Linked DNA regions of Homo sapiens: region 2 is linked to region 1. The links are contacts of gene promoters, found by promoter capture Hi-C in blood cells and fetal thymus (Javierre and others, 2016). All regions are on one chromosome and are shown on one strand. Each heading gives the region's core, a stretch centred on a gene start or on the middle of the fragment in contact. The rest is flanking DNA. Distances are from core to core; before and after follow the strand shown. Region 1 holds the start of SRGN (serglycin). Region 2 overlaps VPS26A (VPS26 retromer complex component A).

The links. The method cuts DNA at HindIII sites, captures the fragments that hold promoters and counts their contacts. A CHiCAGO score of 5 or more calls a contact.
Region 2: a contact is called between a fragment that was not itself captured here and the fragment with the promoter of SRGN in region 1, in 1 of 17 cell types (monocytes). The highest score is 5.1, in monocytes.

Annotation. Positions count from the first base shown.
Region 1 is chr10:69,085,887-69,091,307 of GRCh38, reverse strand. It overlaps SRGN (serglycin), which reads right to left and starts at 3,205. Exons shown (of 3, transcript NM_002727.4): 1 at 3,072-3,205. The coding sequence starts at 3,150. RefSeq lists a silencer at 997-1,176 and enhancers at 1,875-3,074, 4,722-4,891. The HindIII fragment of the contact is 21,371 bases long and covers 1-5,421 here.
Region 2 is chr10:69,156,760-69,162,180 of GRCh38, reverse strand. It overlaps VPS26A (VPS26 retromer complex component A), which reads right to left. Exons shown (of 9, transcript NM_004896.5): 4 at 5,018-5,174; 5 at 3,970-4,134. It also overlaps the pseudogene RPS12P17. Among named protein-coding and RNA genes, the nearest start is that of SUPV3L1, 21 kb to the left of the region's middle. The HindIII fragment of the contact is 465 bases long and covers 2,082-2,546 here.

The DNA of each region.
Region 1 (5,421 bases), core at 1,956-4,455:
TTTAAATAAAGAAAACCTCTGATCCATGAGCTGCAGTAGAAAGTTAATTCTGGCCTTGAAATCAGACGACCAGTTCAGCCGTTAATTAGTTGTAATGGGTCTTGGGCAAGACTCACAAATTTTTTGCAAGAGGTTAATGTATAGAGCAAATGAGATGAGAAATGTCAGATCCAGTTTTCTCCTCTATAATTGGTGCTAATTCCTCATCACAGGGAATGTGATGATGATTACCAGAGAATGGATGTGAAATCACTTTACAAAGAGCAGCACAAGGAGTGGATCAGTATCATTCCTGTGAGCTAGGAGACAGTATACAGTGGACACATGGCGGGCCTGGCCTCCTTGGCTGCACCTGTTCATGGATATTCCATTTTTTTTCTTTATGGGTGTCATTGGAAAAGAGAGGCAATAAAAGTGGAAGATTCACAGGCCTCATCAAATCCCCTGGAGCCCTACATTAAATAGATTAGTCATCTGTGCTCTCCAGAGTTACACATCCCCAAATTTCCATTTCTTTGTGCTTGGTAAACACAATCTTACCCCACATCTTTACTTGGGTTTGACTTATAATAAAAATATACCACCACCAAATTCATATGTTCCAGTTCTAACCCACAGAATCTCACAATGTGAAATTGTTCAGAAATAGGGTCATTGCAGATATAGGTAGTTAAGATGAGGCCATTAGGGTGGCCCTGATCCAATGCCTGGTGACCCTCTAAGAAGATGGTATTAAGACACGGATGCATGGAGGAAAGGCCATGTGCAGACAAGGGAGAAGGCGCCATCTATAAGCCAAGGAGAGAGGCCTCAGAATGCGATCGACCCTGCCAGCACCTTGATCTTGGACTCCCATCTCCAGAACTGTGAGGAAATACATTTCTGTTATTTAAGCCACTCAGTCCGTGGTACTTTGTTATGGCAACCCGAGCAAACCACTATAGTGACCTGAAATGGTTTTGAATATGCTCAGTAAAAGCAAGCCAAAAGCCTAGTTGATTTCATCTGCCAAACCAACGGGCTAGATAAACACTTTTTATAAGACAGGAAGAATGTTGTCGAATCATATCTGGCATTGCGTGGAGGTGTGAGGAAATGGTGTCACGACTCTTCACATCACAGCCTTGTGCCGCAGTCACTCACATGTGCAGCCAGTGGGGGACATCTATTTCCCTGCATGCTCAGATGTGGGCACAAGCCCTTGAGCCCGATACTGAGAGCCTTTTTTCGGAAACACCCTAGTTTGTCAGTTTCTCCCTTGTCTCTTTCTATGGTTTCCTTTTCTAACAAAGAGCTAAACCTACGAGGTCATGACATAAATGCTAGTATTCTATACAATTTCATGATGAATTATTTTCTTTCCTTCTCTTTCTTTCTTTCCTTTCTTTCTCTCTCTCTCTCTTTCTTTCTTTCTGACAGAGTCTTGCACTGTCACCTAGGCTGTAGTACAGTGGTGCAATCTCAGCTCACTGCAACCTCCACCTCCCAGGTTCAAGCAATTCTCCTGCCTCAGCCTCCTGAGTAGCTGGGATGACAGGTGTGTGCCACCATGCCCGGCTAATTTTTTTGTATTTTTGGTAGAGACGGGATTTCACTATGTTGGCCAGGCTGGTCTCAAACTCCTGACCTCATGATCTGCCTACCTTGGCCTCTCAAAGTGCTGGGATTACAGGCGTGAGCCACCATGCCCGGCCTTCTTCATTTCTTTCTAATGAATATTATACAAGGAACGTTTTTGTTTTCATTCTAGTTTTCCTTAATGAATCTTAGTGGGAAATTCATGTTTCTGGGAAATTTTGACAACATAAAGACTTACATATCTCTGGTTGGGGTATGCCCAGCACCATCTGGCCATTCAAGACTGTACTAAAGTATGGGCCTCATTACTCTCGATCTTGTCAGACCACTTGGCTATTCGGGAATTATTTCATCAAGCTGAAGATATTCCCTAAAAGATCCCAGTGAAGCCTGTTCCCTACAATTGACAATGTTTTATATTTTAAAAATACATAAATTAATAACGTTCCAGAAACATTACTTGCTCTTTTTTCAGCATTAGCATAACTAGAAGAAAATGATTTTATAAATTTCCAACATAAAATGAATGTCTCTGCGATCATCTGTAAGATTTCATCTCCACCGGAAGTAAGATCATGACAACCAAAAGTCGCTTTGACGAAACAAATCTAGGACATGTGTGTCATTGTGACTCAACATTTCCCTTACCATTTGGCGGAACCTAGTGTTTTTCTACTATAGGTTCAGCCATCTCTCTATCAAGCCATGACCTCCGTCTTATTTAGACATGATTCCTTATTTGCCAAAGAATAACAAATTGTATTTTTCTTACAAGCCTATCATTTTCATTGTCTTAGTCATTACAGGTTTTAAGTTGTTTCAGTCTGACTAAACAACACTAAATGGTAGATAAACCTAGGAAGATATTTCCGAATATGATGCTTCTCTGAGCAAGAGCACAAATACCAAATTATTTGGCCTTCTCTTTAAAATCTGAGAGGTTTTACATGAACTATGTCTAACCATAATTGAGTTTTCAGTAAGAACCAAGTTTATCTTTAAAAAAAAAAAAAAGAAAAGAAAATACACACAGTCAGATTCACCCCAATTGGAATATAACGTCTCCCAGTGTTAAAATAACAATGACACCGTCACAGCGCACTAAAACTTGGGGCTGATGTAGACACTTAGGGGTAGGCAGACACCCCCCAACAGTCAAAGGTGCCATCTCCTCCATGCAACAGGCACAGGAGTCATTTTCTAGATTCCTTTTTTGAGCTTTTAAAATTTATAAACCTCACATTTTCATCCCAAAATAGCACATTTCAATCATTGTAAGAGTTTACAAGACTGCACACGCCACAGAGTTTAATTTTTCTTGGTACCAAACTTAACAGAACTCATATTAAAGGGTTCAGCGACCCCAAATCCTTCTTCTTTGCCTCCTTTCTCACAATATTATACATTCTATGCCTTAAAATGAATATAATGACTTGCATGGACCACAGGGCTTACAGAGAAGATGGCTGGGGAACAAGACTCCTGAGTCTTACCTTGAACTGAGGATTCCAGAACCAGGATGAGGGCAAGAGCCAGGACAAGCCGACTGCATTTGAGTAGCTTCTGCATCATGACCAACTTAGTCTAGCTCTCCCAGCTGCACGCCAACTTCTTGATTAGGAAATGTAGCAGGGTGCTCTCTGTCCCTTTTAGAAAATGTTCCAAAACCTCAAACCCTGCCCAGAACACACGTCACAATTTCCTGAACAAATAGAAAGACATCCACATCAAAACCCAGAAAGAAAGGGGGTGGGGGGAACACAGTAAAATAACTATTCATACCCATTATGAAACTGTACTGGACTCCCCCCAGGCCTGCTTTTTCAAAAGTTTTGTTGTTTGCCACTTGCCTGCAAGACATTTTTTTTTCCCACCGAAACAGTAGAATCAGCATTTGGGACAGTTTGTTTTTCCTTTCTTCAGGTAACAATCTAAACACTAGATTGCTAATATTAAGAATCTGCTGCATTTTTTATGAGATAAGGGATCTAGGTGCTGCCTTTTCGTCACCAAGCACTTTCAACATAAAACATTCTCTTCATTTTCTTTTTCACCGGGGAGTAACATACCTCACTGAGCCAAGCTCGTGAAGTGAAACTTCAAAGCTGAGCTCTAACCTTCAAGAATGAGTTGTCGGATTTCAGATGAACAGTTTCTTCTTCTTCTTTTTCTTCTTTTTTTTTTTTTTTTTTTTTTTTTTGAGATGGAGTCTCACTCTGTCACCCAGGCTGGAGAGCAGTGGCGCGATCTCAGCTCACTGCAACCTCCATCTCCAGGGTTCAAGCAATTCTCCTGCCTCAGCCTCCTGAGTAGCTGGGATTACAGGCGTACACCACTGCGCTGGACTAATTTTGTATTTTTAGTAGAGACGACGTGTCACCATGTTGGCCAGGCTGGCCTCAAACTCCCAACCTCAGGCCATCCGCCTGCCTCAGCCTCCCAAAGTGCTGGGATTACAGGCGTGAGCCACCGTGCCCAGCAAACAGTTTCTTCTTAAACTCAGTTTCTTGCATTGGATCATTGGCTCTCTCTCTATCTCAAGAACATAGGATTTTCAGTTACAAAGACTGTGGTAAAACAGAAAAACTATTTTGCATTCCCCTCTCCTTCACATTGAGCATTTCTTAAGATGGATTCCATTTCTATTTTTATCTGTTCTCCTAGTCAAAATTTTCAACTCGAGTTTTGGGTCCTCTGGCCTTGAATAAGCCAGAAATCAGGAACGAGGGAGAGGTTGTCCTCACAGTGAGCTGCTGGACCTCAGCAAACAACACAAACCTCTGCCTCATGTAAATAAAGGAACAGCATTTTCCCTGGGCATGGTGCAGATTTCTGGAGGACTAAGGCTCCATATTAAAGTTATACAATAAAGGCCAGGTGCTGTGGTCCACACCTGTAATCCCAGCACTTTGGGAGGCTGAGGTGGGTGGATCACAAGGTCAGGAGATCGAGACCATCCTGGCTAACACCGTGAAACCCCGTCTCCACTAAAAATACAAAAAATTAGCCGGGCGTGGTGGCGAGTGCCTGTAGTCCCAGCTACTCGGGAGGCTGGGGTAGGAGAATCGCTTGAACCCGGGAGGCAGAGGTTGCAGTGAGCCAAGATCGTGCCATTGCACTCCAGCCTGGGTGACAGAGAGAGACTCTATTTCAAAAAACTAAAAATAATAAAATAAAATAAAATAAAGTTATACAATAAATACAAGCCTATCATACATCCTTGCCCTTGTGGCATATACATTTTCCTTACTTCCTTTCAAGATTCAACCACTCTCCATTTCAACATGTCTATCCCTACCGCTCCCCCAGACGGCTTAATGCACGTGCCCCACTTTCCATTCTCATCCTCGCCCTTGCCTGGCCTTTGATAGGAGGGAGGAGTTTCCCTTCCCTTGTTTTAGGCTTCCTGCTGATTCCTTTACCATTTCCTGCTAAGGACAGAGTCTCACAGTCTAATAGCCGTGGTGCAAGAACACAAAGAGTGTACATTTTGGCCCTCCTCAGAAGCCCCTCACATCAGCCAGAAGTGTGTCCTCCAACTCAGGGGCGTCTCCAAGCACAGTAACCAACCCCAAAATGCACTGGCCCGGAAAGTTTTCCACTGAGAAATGTCGGTTTCTGTTTGAAATATCAGATGTCATCTTTGGTCCTTTTAAATCTAACTCCCAATTGAAAACCCTGGCACCAAAACAATAGTTCCTATCAATAGCTTCGATGAGTTTCCTGCAAATCCCCAGAGCTGATTAGGGCTGTGTTTTAAAATGGTAATTTTAGGGGCTTTTTCCATTTGGGAACTTCATTTTTTTTCTTTCTTTCTCTGGGTCATGGTGTTGTTGTTGTTTT
Region 2 (5,421 bases), core at 1,065-3,564, 72 kb before region 1:
GTCTCTACTAAAAATACAAAAATTAGCTGGGCATGGTGGCACATGCTTGTGATCCCTGCTACTTGGGAGGCTGAAGCGGGAGGACTGCCTGAACCCAGCAGGTGAAGGCTGCAGTGAGGCAAATCACACCACTGCACTCCAGCTTGGGTGACAGCAAGACTCCATCTCAAAAAAAAAAAAAAAAAAGTACTATTTTGAGCTCTTTCCTTGCCGCTGCTGAGTTGCATGGAGGTGGCGGCCTGGGTGTATTCAAGATTCAGTTTCACTCACCACCATGGCTGAGGAAGGCATTGCTGCTGGAGGTATAAGGGACGTTACTACTGCTTTACAAGAGGTGCTGAAGACCACCCTCATCCATGATGGCCTAGCATGTGGAATTCACAAAGCTGCCAAAGCCTTAGACAGGCACCAAGCTCATCTTTGTGTGCTTGCATCTAATTGTGATGAGCCCATGTATGTTAAGTTGGTGGAGGCCCTTTGTGCTGAACCCCGGTTGATGACAAGAAGAAACTGGGGAATGGGTAAGCCTCTATAAAACTGACAGATGGGGGAAACCCCGTAAAGTGGTTGTTTGCAGTTGTGCAGTAATTAAGAACTATGGCAAGGAGTCTCAGGCCAGGATGTCATCAGAGAATACTTCAAATGAATAAATAAAACTTTGGCTCACCAAAAACAAAAACCAACAACAACCATTTTGATTATTCATATTGTTTAGTGTTCTTTTTTTCAAAAAAGTATTCATCATTTCACTATGCAAATAAGGAATCAAACTTTTACTTGACTACCTCAGAGGGAATAATTACCCTGGTTAACTGTTCTGGCTGGGCTCAGTGGCTCACACCTATAATCCCAGTACTTTGGGAGGCCCAAGGCGACAGGATTGCTTGAACCCAGGAGTCTAAGACCAGCCTAGGCAACATAGGGGGATGTAATCTCTTCTAAAAATTAGCTGGGTGGTGCAAAATTAGTGGCACATGCCTGTGATCCTAGCTACTCAGGAGGCTGAGGTGAGATGATAATTTGAGCCTGGGAGATTGAGGCTGCAGTGACTCATGATTGTGCCACTGCACTCCAGCCTGGGTGACAGAGCCAGACTCTTTCTCAAAACAAACACACACAAAAAATACTTGAAATATTTGGTGTATGAAGATATTTTCAACATTAAAAGACACAAGAGTTTAGTGTCATTATTACTCAAGTTCTACAAGAGTGCAGCTAACATAAATCATCTGCCCACAAAGACAAAGTAAAAGAAACCTACCTACATAGGTTGAGTCTGCTGTTGTGATAGCTAATAACCAAAGGTCGCTCCCACGTACCTTGTAATGATGTGGTAATAAACTTAGGAATCCCTATAATATCCAGAGGACTTTTTAGCATCCTCCCAGGTTTGGCTCTCAAAATTGTATCTCAAGAGTTGGTTAATATAAATTATGTCAGGCCGGGCACGCCTGTAATCCCAGCACTTTGGGAGACCAAGGCGGGCAGATCACCTGAGGTCAGGAGTTCAAGACCAGCCTAGCCAACATGGTGAAACCCCATCTCTACTAAAACTACAAAAATTAGCCGGGCGTGGTGGCACATGCCTGTCATCCCAGCTACTCAGGAGGCTGAGGCAGGAGAATTGCTTGAACTCAGGAGGTAGAGGTTGCAGTGAGCCGAGATCATGCCACTGCACTCCAGACGGGACGACAGAGATTCCGACTCCAAAAAAAAAAAAATATGTTGGGCGCGGTGGCTCATGCCTATAATCCCAGCACTTTGGGAGGCCAAGGCGGGTGGATCATGAGGTCAGGAGTTTGAGACCAGCCTGACCAACATGGTGAAACCCCGTCTCCACTAAAAATACAAAAATTAGCCAGGCATAGTGGCAGGCACCTGTAATCCCAGCTACTCAGGAGGCTGAGGCAGGAGAATCCCTTGAACCCAGGAGGCAGAGGTTGCAGTGAGCCGAGATCACGCCATTGCACTCCAGCCTGGGCGACAAAGTGAGACTCAAACAAACAAAAAACTGTGTGTGTGTGTGTGTGTGTGTGTGTGTGTGTGTGTGTGTAAAAATTATGTCAGTCTGAAGGGAAGCTTCAGTGGTTTCAGGTCCTAAACTATTTGATAATTTCATCAACAATATAATTTTAAGATTCTGAAGTCCATATGTATTACATATTCAGTGATATAAACCTGGGAGTGACAACCAATAAAAATAATGTAACAAAAGACTGGGGTATGAAAGGGATAATACAGGGCACATCCATTTCTTCAACAAACAAACTTTAATAAAAAAAATAGAAGGGAAACCTATAAATTAAAAAATTTAAGGCTCAAACAACCAAATGCAATGTGTGGCCCTAGTTTAAATATTGATTTGAACAAAGTATGTGAAAAAAGAAAGATATCTGTGAGCCAATTAGGGAAATGTGAATACTGTCTGGGTGTATGAAGATATTAAGGAATTACTAATATTTTTAGATATAAGAGTATTGTAGTTATATTTAGAATGATATATAACTTTTTAAAACTTTTTTCTGAATAGACACAGAAAACAAGCTTGTCATATAACATTTAAATAAGAGATATGTAAAGTCAATACATAATTTCATCCTTTACAGATAACCACTGTTAACAACAGAATATCATTGCAGACTCTTTTCTATTCATATCCAAATACATGAGTATTTTACAGAAATGAAACAGTACTATGCATGCTGTTTTTATGGCTAAATTTTTCACTTAATATATCATGGACACGCTTCTGGAGAACTAAATACATATGTCTCAATCTTTTTTTTTTGTTTTTTTTTTTGAGATGGAGTCTCCCTCTGTCACCCAGGCTGGACTGCAGTGGCGTGATCTCAGCACACTGCAACCTTTACCTCCCAGGTTCAAGCAATTCTCCTCCCTCAGCCTCCCAAGTAGCTGGGATTACAGGCATGCACCGCCACACCCATCTAATTTTTGTATTTTCAGTGGAGACGGAGTTTCTCCATGTTGACCATGCTGGTCTCAAACTCCTGACCTCAGGTGATCAAACTCTGCCCACCTTGGCCTCCCAAAGTGCTGGGATTACAGGTGTGAGCCACCGCACCCGGCCTCAATCTTTTTAACCCTTCTTTAGCATTCCACAGTATGGCTGGACCATAATTTATTTAACTGTTATAATACCAGTGGGCATTTAAATGGCAATCTTTTGTTCATGTAAGTAATGTTTCTGAGAACATCTTAGTCCATGTATAAAATGATATTGATACAGCTTCCCACAGATTGTATCGAAGCAAATTCCACATATATAATTTAATTGATAAAATGATACATAATTTTATGGGTTAAATTAAATGTCTGGAATTTGCTTCAATATAACCTATGGGGAGTATGAGAGCTGAATACAGATAAACTGGATTGTGTGTTGATAACTGTTGGAGCTGGGCAATGGGTACATGAGGATTCATTATATTATTCAGTATACTGTTCAAATATTTTAGTATATGCTTGAAATTTCCCATAATAAAATTTAAAAAGGCATTAAACACAAGCAAAATATGAGCCAGTTTTGTAAAAATACAACATATATAAACATATATACCTTCCCCCTCCCCCCAAGAAATGATATACAAGGAGACATTAACAGTGATTAAGTGGTAAAGGTGAAAATATGTGAAAAGAGATGGCTAGGATGAGGTAATATCAAGCCAGTAAGATAAATTGTATCCTCAGAAGGACTGGCTGCCTTCTGAGATGGTGACATCCTCTACACAAAGTGGCCAAGCAGAGATTTATCAGGAATAGAACATAAAAGACACCTTTACTGAGTGGAAACCAGACCAAACTCCTAAAATTTCTTTTAGCTCAGAGATCCTGTTGATTTGTTAACATCAGATTAATGTCAATTCTATCCTTACTTTGACCAACTGACAAACACCTGAAAAGTTAATTTTTGAATTTTCTCTGAACAACTTATCTGTGAATGATACTTACTTTGATTTATTATATTCAAATTCTATATGTAGACAATCTTCAATGCCCACTTCCATCTTAATAGAGTTGTTAACATCAGGATAGGTGGCAAGCTGGTGAACAATAAGATCATACTCTTTTACCAAATCTGTCAGTCTTCTCACTATTGTCACTTTAAGAAAATACCTACAAAGTTAAAAGAGAGTCGATGAGTTAAATCACCTGTGATAAATTTTCATGTTTTAAATCAGCAAACATTAACTGCAACTCAGGCTTCTCCTCCTTGCTGGAACTCCTTTGGGATCAACTTACTTCATTACTTCACGAAGGAGTTCCAATTTTCTTTAATGCCCCCAACATGAAAAAAAATACAAAGTTCAATTTTAAGAATAGTGTAAATACTTTACAGATGAGTTTGGAGGGCTGTCATCAAGCCTACTTGAAGAAACCTCTCCAGATCACTTCTTTAAGGAACTGCTATTTGAAATTTGGGTTGTCAAACCCAGTTCCAGATAGATAATGCCAAGTTAAACAGAGAAAGCAAGATCTCGGACCTGATGCATTCAGATTAATATCCTGAAATGCCCTGGACTCTGAGGCATCCCTGGCTTCCTGCATACAGACTTAGTGAAGGGAAAGGACACTGAATTGAGAGTTTAGAAAACTAGGTTCGTACTCCTTTTCTGCCATCCACTATTTGTGTCATTTTAGATGTATCAGAGCCTCTCTGGTACTCCAGATTACTTCTGAACCATATACTAAAGGAGATTTTCTGGGAAACTAGTGGATTTAGAAGGTCATTCAGTTTACATGACAAATGAAGTACGTAAGGGACAATTCATACCAGGGAAGTGTATAACTGAAATGTCTCATAACAATGTTGTCTAACTCTATAATGTTAGAACGCTCTATTACCTCAAATCAGCATTAGCCAAAGTATGTGACAGAATTTTTAAAAATCTTAAATCTTCCAATACAGAATTATAATTAGAGGTTCAAATAAGATATCAACAGTAGTCATTACTTTCTGGTTTTGATTCTGTTTACAGTTTATAATACACATTCATACCTCAAGCGGACATTGGCACCGATGTAAGATTCATATGGCTTTTCAACTTGCATAAATTCAAAATCATAACTTCTGCTCTGAGTCAGTTCTCCAGGTAAGGCTAGTTCTTTCACTAGGTTTACAAATTCATGAGTATTACTCTTGTCATTGAAAAGTTCTGAGAAATTTTAAAAGGCAAAAAGACCAATTATTTAATAGCCATTTCAATAAAACCCAGACATCTACTTCAAACACAAACGATTTTTACCAAAAGAATTATTGAGTTTGTCTCTAATAAACTAGACCTATGCTCTGAATTCCATTATCCTTTTTATAATTATACTTCATGTAGGCATAAAAGATTTCAAGTGGCATAGCACAATGAAAATTTCTTTAAAAATGAGTTCATTCCTTTGATGTAGTTG